2 separate regions of the Homo sapiens genome follow, and region 2 is linked to region 1. Evidence: promoter capture Hi-C in 16 types of primary human blood cells and fetal thymus (Javierre and others, 2016). All regions are on one chromosome and are shown on one strand. The core of a region is centred on a gene start or on the middle of the fragment in contact, and the rest is flanking DNA. Distances in the headings are between cores, read along the strand shown. Region 1 holds the start of SAR1A (secretion associated Ras related GTPase 1A). Region 2 overlaps LRRC20 (leucine rich repeat containing 20).

What was found. Contacts are between HindIII fragments. The CHiCAGO score rates a contact against its expected background, and 5 or more counts as called.
Region 2: a contact is called between a fragment that was not itself captured here and the fragment with the promoter of SAR1A in region 1, in 1 of 17 cell types (monocytes). The highest score is 7.0, in monocytes.

The regions. Positions count from the first base shown.
Region 1 is chr10:70,168,631-70,172,892 of GRCh38, forward strand. SAR1A (secretion associated Ras related GTPase 1A) reads right to left here and starts at 1,884. Exons shown (of 7, transcript NM_020150.5): 1 at 1,783-1,884. RefSeq lists enhancers at 850-1,508, 1,509-2,165, 2,299-2,378 and a silencer at 1,809-2,168. The HindIII fragment of the contact is 7,469 bases long and covers 1-2,265 here.
Region 2 is chr10:70,328,048-70,332,309 of GRCh38, forward strand. The region is part of intron 3 of LRRC20 (leucine rich repeat containing 20); the gene reads right to left. Among named protein-coding and RNA genes, the nearest start is that of NPFFR1, 46 kb to the left of the region's middle. RefSeq lists an enhancer at 3,706-4,000. The HindIII fragment of the contact is 2,759 bases long and covers 1,147-3,905 here.

The DNA of each region.
Region 1 (4,262 bases), core at 634-3,133:
AAACATTTTTTACAAGTCTGTAAAGTATTGACTGAAAACCAGTGTAGTACAAATGTATATAGAAGTGTTGGGTTGTAAAGGAGTGATGAGAGTGGAGGCTGACTGAAGAAACTCTTCAGGTGAGCTAAAAATAATAAAAACCCTTACTAGATCCAAAGAGTCGGGTTGCACTGCTACCCAAAGTTAAGAAAATGCCCCCGCCCCCCTTTTCTTAAGACAGACCAAGACTCTGTCTCCAAGGCTGAAGTGCAGTGTTGCCATCATGGCTCACTGCAGCCTCAACCTCCCAGGCTCAAGAGATCCTCCCACCTCAGCCTCCTCAGCAGCTGAAAATGGCCTTGGTGGCTCCTCTCTCCTTAAGATCTTAGGATTTGTACCAACTCATCAGTAGTTTTACAATCTGCACAGTACTTGTACATCTCATTTCATCCCCACACCAACCCTACCAGGCAAGGATCACTGGCCTCATTTAACAAGATAAAGATGAGGATACTCCTAGTTTTGCTGAGTCCTTTAAGACGGCTCAGTTGAAAAAGTAATAGTGCCAGGGCTTAAACCCTCATCTCTAACACCAAAGCCTAAGCTCTTCCTGTTAACAGTACATAAAATTCAAACCCAAACCACAAAATTGCTGGGGAAAAAAAAAAAAACTAAAACTTCTTTAACCCACCAACTACACAGAGGATGATCTTCCGAAGTTCTCTTCCTTACAACTCATCACATCTTTTGAATGGTATTTTAATAACTAGCATTCTATTTATTTTCTATTCTTGGTCCATTGTACCACCTTACGAGAAGTTAAGAGTAATCTAAAATTTAAGGTAGGTCTCTAAACTATCAACAAAACACTATTAATGTACCTAAAATGAAAACTTGCGAATTCCAGGGCTAAATGATTCAAACAAATGTTAATAGAAAAGGAGGGCACCAATCTGACCATTAGCCAATTTAAAAATTTACGCATTACTTGTTATACATAATCAGGGCAACTTTAAGACGCCATTCCAGGCAGATTTGGGGTAGTAGGCGGCTGGCTTTTAGCTAACTCTGCTTAGCTGCGGGGTAAATGTCAAAGGTCAGCCCCATGGCGAATCTCCCTAAGCCCCCTGTCGCAACCGAAGCCGATGGAATCAACAAGACAAAGATGCTCCTGACCCACTGGCTAGAATCGTGAAGAAAACGCTAATCCATGTCAAATGCACATAAGGAAATTTTTCCATGCAGAGACCAGACAGGGGAAAAGGGGAAGGGAGAAGGAGAAAATACAGGGTTCGACCCGGGCCATCGGAAGACAACCAAGCGCTGACTTGGGGGTAAGCCCTGGACTAGGGGCCTGTAGACCAGGTTCGAGCGCTCACACTCGCTAACTGCGGAGCCTTGGCCAGCCTCAGTCTCCGAGTCTACAAAACAAGGATAATCATAAAGGGCTCCCACCCGCCTCACCGAGGGCTGTGAGGCTCTTCCGAGACAGAGGACATGGAGCCATTTCGTAAACCGGAGCGCACGGTACAGACAAGAAACTGTTATCCGGCCCAGCAGCTGCGAGACCCCCGAGCGGAATGCAAGTGGACCCCAGGCAAAGAGGACAGCAGGGGACGGAGCAGATCTGGCCAAGTTGTCCCGTCCCCGCCCAGAATCAGCCCCGCGGCCCCACAGAACCGCCTGCGTGTCACTTCCCCCCCACCCAACCCCGCCAGGGCCAGCCTCCGCTCCGACCTCCCCGCCTTCCGTCCCAGCCCCTCGAGCCCCAACTCCCCTCCCCGACGCGACCCTCAGACTCACGGCCTGAGGGGCTCCTCCGGCAAAACAGCGGCTGGCTCGGACCCTCCCTCAGAGCACACTAACCAGCAGCACCCGGGACCGCCAGCTACTCGCCGGATGTACGTCACACCCCTCCCCGGGACTTCCGGGCGCGTAATGGGCCCCGCCCCCTCACAGCGTTACGCCTCTCTGCCCCGGTGCCGTCCCACCAGCGACTCGGGCCGCGGAGGGGCGGGCATAAGGCGTGACAAAGCGCGCTCGGGGTCTGGCCCCGCCTCGGCCCCGCCTGCTCCCGTCTGGCTAGCTGACCGCGCGAGACGTGGCAGCGCCGGAACCCTGGGTCCGGGGCTGGGTCCTGGAGTCCCTGAGCGGCCTGGTACACTCGGGATCGCGGCTTCCCATTCCAGACGCACCAGGAAAGTCAGAAGTGGGTACCGACGGTGACATAGGTCCTGGGAAAGATGAGTTGACCTTGGGGCCCTCCACTTGAGGTGGATCCCTCCAAGCTTTTGCTTTTTTTCTTCCTTGCTTTTTTTTTTTTTTTTTTTTTTTTTGAGGCGGAGTCTCACTTTGTCGCCCAGGCTGGAGTGCAGTGGCGCGATCTCGGCTCACTGCAACCTCCACCTCCCGGATTCAAGCGATTCTCATACCTCGGCCTCCCGAGTAGCTGGAACTACAGGCGCATGTCACCACACCTGGCTAATTTTTTTGTATTTTTACAGAGACAGGTTTCACCGTGTTGGCCAGGCTGGTCTCGAACTTCTGACCTCAAGTGATCCGCTGGCCTCGGCCTTCCAAAATGCTGGGATGAGAGGCGTGAGCCACCGCGCCCAGCTGCTTTTGCTTTGAGTCGCACTTCCTTGCCCTGGGGTGGCCTATGTTTTAGAAAAACAGAAAAACAGCTAATATTTATTGTGCACTTATGTTCCAGGCAGAGCACTGGGTACTTTGCACGCTTTGTCTAATTTCACCGTCATTGGAGTCCTGTGACTCCAGATGCTAGTATTATCCTTATTGACAAATGAGAGAGCAATGTTCAGAATAACCTACCATGCCCAAGTTCACACAGCTAAGTGGCAAAGCAACGTGTTCACCCCAGTATATTTCGCATGCATTTTCTCATTTAATTCTCAGGACAGTCCCACGAGATTGGTACTATTATTACTCTCATTTTACAAATAAAACAGTCTAATGGAAAGATGAATGACGTCTGTGGGTTCATGAAGATCTCAATTCTCCTTTAGTAAAATTTAAATTTAACATAATCCCAATAAAAGTACTAATAGGATTAATAGGTCGTGTGTGGTTTCGTTCTTTTTTTTTAATTACCCTATTTGTTCCTAAAATTCGTATAGAAAACCAAACAAAACTAGTCCAGAAACAGGCTTTCAAAATGAAGAACAAGGAGGTGGGAACTAACCCTGTTGGATATTAAAACATATTATAGAGCCTAAGTTATTAAAACTGGTGTGCGTGCACATGCACAAACACACACACACAAAAAACACAATGGAACAGAGCAAAGTACAGAAATGACTAAAGTACATGCAGAAATAAAACTAAAGTAGCACCTGGGACTCCAGCAATACTCAGGGAGCTGAGTGGGCAAGCTCACCACCCTCTACCCTCCGCTCATCCTGGGGTCTTAGATGTTGAATTTGAACCCTGTCCTGTCACAGAAAGGTGTCAGGCCACTTCTGAGGCTTCTCACCAGCTTTAGCTAAACCAGGGACAATGTGTCCATGGGGCTTGGAACCCCTTGTGCATCCTGGAGACACAGATGCAAGCCCAGTGCAAGCCAACACATTGGATTACTGGCTTTGTTGAGAGCCTGGCTGCACGAGGTGGAGGTGTCTGAACCACAGGATGGCTTGGGAGGCTGGGGAAGGAGGGAACATGCAGGCAGATTCTCAGAAAAGCCGCAAACTCTACTTACCTAAAGGCTTGAGCAAGTTGACGAATGCCCCAGACCACCATGTACCCACTGTAAAATGGGTGAAACAGGCATTGTTGTGCACATAGTTTTTCCAGAGTACTGTTTTCAATAAATGATTCTGTTATGTGTTGTTAAATAAATTAATAAATAATAAAAGGGGTTGAGACAATTGGGTAGTCAAAAAAACCTACAGGTTGAATCTCCAAAAGTTTATTACTCTAAACAAGTTTCAAGTGATGAAAAGATGTGTGTATTTTGAAATGACACTATAAAGGTACTAGAAAAACAGAAGAAAGCATGGATTCCTTATAATTTTGCAATGAGAAGACCTTTCTGGGTATGATTGAAAATCTAGACCGGGCGTGGTGACTCATGCCTGTAATCCCAGCGCTTTGGGAGGCTGAGACTGGCGAATCACAAGGTCAGGAGTTCGAGACCAGCCTGGCCAACATGGTAAAACCCCATCTCTACTACAAATACAAAAAATTAGCCAGGCGTAGTGGCAGGCGCCTGTAATCCCAGCTACTTGGGAGGCTGAGGCAGGCGAATCGCTTGAACCCCTGCG
Region 2 (4,262 bases), core at 1,276-3,775, 160 kb after region 1:
TGTTCCAACTCATCAGGTGTCCTTGGGCCCATCCTCTCTCCAGGTGGCCTCATGAGAAGGTCTTTCCTGCCTATTTATCGCAGGCTGTGATGATGAGCTAAGAGGGCTGTGAAAGGCAGGATGAGCTACACAAGTCACATATTTACTAAGCACCTACTATATGCTCAGCCTAATCACATATTTACTAAGCACCTACTATATGCTCAGCCTTGTAACTGAATGTAAAAAGGGTAATCTTTGTTTTTTGTTTTTTGGCGTTTTTTTTTTGAGATGGAGTTTTGCTCTTTCGCCCAGGCTGGAGTGCAGTGGTGTGATCTTGGCTCACTGCAACCTCCGCTCCCTGGGTTCAAGCAATTCTCCTGCCTCAGCCTCCCAAGAAGCTGGGATTATAGGCACCCACCACCACACCCAGCTAATTTCTGGATTTTTACGAGAGACAGGGTTTTGCCATGTTGGCCAGGCTAGTCTCGAACTCCTGACCACAGGTGATACACCCGCCTCGGCCTTCCAAAGTGCTAGGATTACAGGCATGAGCCACCATGCCCGGTCAGAAAAGGGTAATCTTTGAAAATTAAATACACTCAACAAGACCAGGCGCAGTGGCTCATGCCTGTAATCCCAGCACTTTGGGAGGCCAAAGTGGGTGGATCACTTGGGGCCAGGAGTTCAAGACCAGCCTGCACAACATGGTGAAACTCTGTCTCTACTAAAAATACAAAAATCAGCCAGGCATGGCAGTACACAGCTGTAATCCCAGCTACTTGGGAGGCTGAGGCAGGAGAATTACCTGAACCCGGGAGGCGGAGGTTGCAGTGAGCCAAGATCCTGCCACTGCACTCCAGCCTGGGCAACAGAGTGAGAGCGAGACTCTCTTAGAGATAGAAGACACATGACACTTGGTTCCTGGATTATGGAACCTTTGCAGAAACAAAATTCAAAGCCAACATGATAGCAGGAATCAAAAGGGAAAATAAGAGAGGGTCAGTGCAACTGTGACACATGGATTGCAGGAAGCCAGTCAGAGCCAATGATGCCAACACAGTCTCCACTTACTCAAAAAATATTACTCAGCACCTACCACAGGGCAGGCTCTGCTAGACAGCGGGAAATCGTGGCAATGAGACAGACTAGATCCCAACCTTAACAAGCTTACAGACAAGTGCAGGGAGAAATAGTAAACAAGAAAAGAAGGTTATTTCAGATCGCTAGGAAGGCATTTGAGGTCAGAGTGAAAAAAACCAGTTCGGCAAAAAGCCCAGGGAAAAGCTATCTTCTTCTTCTTGTTGTTTTATGGCAGTGGTTAGAACTTTAAGGATGAGAGTGGACATCCTTGCCTTGTTCCCAGCTTGGGGGAAAGGCTTTCATCATCAAGTCTGATGTTAGCTGTAGGATTTTTGAAGATGCTCTTTACCAAGTTGAGGTAGTTTCCCTGTATTTCTAGTGTACTGAGAGTTGGAGTTTGTCAAATGCTTTTTCTTTGTCAAATGATATGATTGTGTGATTCTTCTTTTGCCTTTTTTTTTTTTTTTTTCGAGATGGAGTCTGGCTCTGTCCCCCAGACTGGAGTGCAGTGGCACGATCTCGGCTCACTGCAACTTCTGCCTCCCGGGTTCAAGCGATTCTCCTGTCTCAGCCTCCCGAGTAGCTGGGATTACAGGTGCATGCCGCCACTATGCCCAGCTAATTTTTTGTATTTTACTAGAGACGGGGTTTCCCCATGTTGCCCAGGCTGGTCTCGAACTCCCGAGCTCAGGCAATCCACCAACCTCAGCCTCCCAAAGTGCTGGGATTACAGGCGTGAGCCACCTCGCCCAGCCTAGCCTTTTCATATAATAGATTACACTGATTGATTTCTAAAGTTGGACCCAGACTTGCATACCTGGAATAACTGATAAATCCCACTTACACATGTCATATATTCTTCTTATACATTGCCGAATTTGACTGGTAATATTTTGCTGAGAATCTTTCCATCTGTGTTCTTGGGAGATATTGGTCTGTATTTTCTTTTTCTTTCACATTTTTTATACTGTCTTTGTCTGCATTTGATATCAGAGTAATATCAACTTCATAGCATGGATTGGGAAGTATGCCCTTCCCTTCTATTTTCTGGAAGAGGCTGTGTAAAATTGATGTTAATTCTCATTTTAAAAGTTTGATAGAATTCTCCAATGCAATCACCTGGGCTTGGAGATTTCTTCTTTGGGATCTTTTTATTTATGAATTCCACTTATTTGATAGTCATAGGTCTCTTCAGGTTGTCTGTTTCATCTTGGCTGAGTTTTAGTGGTTTGTGGTTCTCAAGAACATGGTCCATTTCTTCTAAGTTGCCAAATTTATAAGAATAAAGTTGTTTATAATAAACCTGGTAGGTTTTGAGTGGGAACCAAACCATGGAGCTGCTTCTAGGCCCCCTCCCCAAGGGAGGGCAAAGACAGCAGGTTCCTGGGGATGGATGTCCCACCCCTGTCAGTCACCCACTTGTCCAACCCCTAGGGCTTTATGAATGTCAATGTATGTGCCAAATTCCACCAAAATTGTTAGAGTAAATCTCCAGGTAGCCAAATCTGAGCTCCATGGGAAGGAAGCATTCCACAGAAAGGCCTTGAATTAGACAGAATGGGGCATGCATCCTGATGGGGTGGGGAGGCACCGGCAAGAGAGCAAGTTCTTCCCAGCCATCCAGCTTCACTTCTCAGAAGCCACGGCCCAGCAGGGTCTCTGAGTTGCTTCTGCTCCCACTGTGGTTTCCACTGCTCTACCCAAGCTGCCTGCGTCACAAGCTCCACAAATCCTCTGTGCGGTAAGGTGAGGTATATATACACAACCAGTTAAAAACAGCCTCTTAGCATTAGCTGAGAAGCAGGTGACCACACCACCTGCTTCCATGGCAAAGAGCCTGACCGGGGACCCGGGGACCCTGAACTGAGGTCTCGCCCTACATCTTCCTGGAGGCAGGTCAGAAAAGCCACTTCTCCCTTCTGAGCCTCAGGGTCCCCATCCGTGAAGACGTGGACTTGGGGATCTCTCCAGTTCTGTTCTCACTGAAATTCCTTGTGGAGAGAGATTCCTATGACTGGACCATCATCCTGACTACTTGGCCAGAGACCTCTCTTGTCTACAACTAAGCCCCCCAGTGTCTTCACCATCACTGTATCAGAAGCATCACTCATCAAGAATCTTGCATGCACCAAACCCTACACAGGGCACCTTATAAGCAATATCTCCAACCTCACAAAATCACTATGGAGTAGATGTTTCCCCATTTCTCAGATAAGGAAACTGAGGCCACGAAGGCCAACTGGGGCCAGCAAGGCTGCTGATGCCTTGGCTTTCTTTTTATCTCTTATATGGCCCCAAACCAGGCATTTAAGGTTTTCTCTGTTGTTTCCAGTTCAGAGGAAGAATAAAAGTGTGGCCAAAGCCCCAGCCACGGGATCGGCCAGTGTGTTGGGCTTCCAGCCCAACACAGCCACAGCCACGTCTGGCTTTGCTTCTCACCTCTGGAGTCACAGCACCCAGGCCATCTGCCCAAGGTCTTACTGCCCCCTCTTCTGGACAGAGAGGGCTGAGATCTTCTGGTCCCAGAAGACTGCATTAGGGGTTCCAAAGATTCTTCCTGCACCAGGCCAGGGTTCAGAGTGGAACAACCAGGGCTCCCAGGATGGACCGGGGCTCTGGAAAAAGATCCCACTCCATTCCACTCCCAACGTTGTACCCAGCCTGAGAGCAGCCCCCATCATGACATTTCCTTATTGATTAAACCTACTGAACTGTGGTTTCCGGTGTCTGTTAAATGGACCTCTTCTTCCCCAAGTTCCTCTTATTACTTCCTGTACCATCCTTATCTTGGACAATTGCCAAGGCTGACTCAGAGGCCTTAGATTAACCCCAGCTGAGAGAGAAGCTTGCCAATTCCATTAGGGGACAGACAAGGCTGGCCTGCAGTAATTATACAACCCATGCTCGAAGGAATGTGCCAACTCCAAAAATACCTGCTCACCAAACCTCAATCAGCACCTCGGCTCTGAACCTGCGGCAATGAGCAATCACAGTCCCTGACTGCACGGACTCCCCAGCAGGGCAGAGTCAGACGGTCAGGTGGGCAGTGTCCTTCCACCAGCCCATGCTCAGTGCTGAGGAGGCTTCACACAGAGACAGCTGCTGCCCACAGGGGTCAGAGGGCATTTCCAGATGCCACACTCACTCCTTGGGGGTGGACAAGGGGAAGGGCAGAAAAAGCACTTTTAACAAGGTCTGGA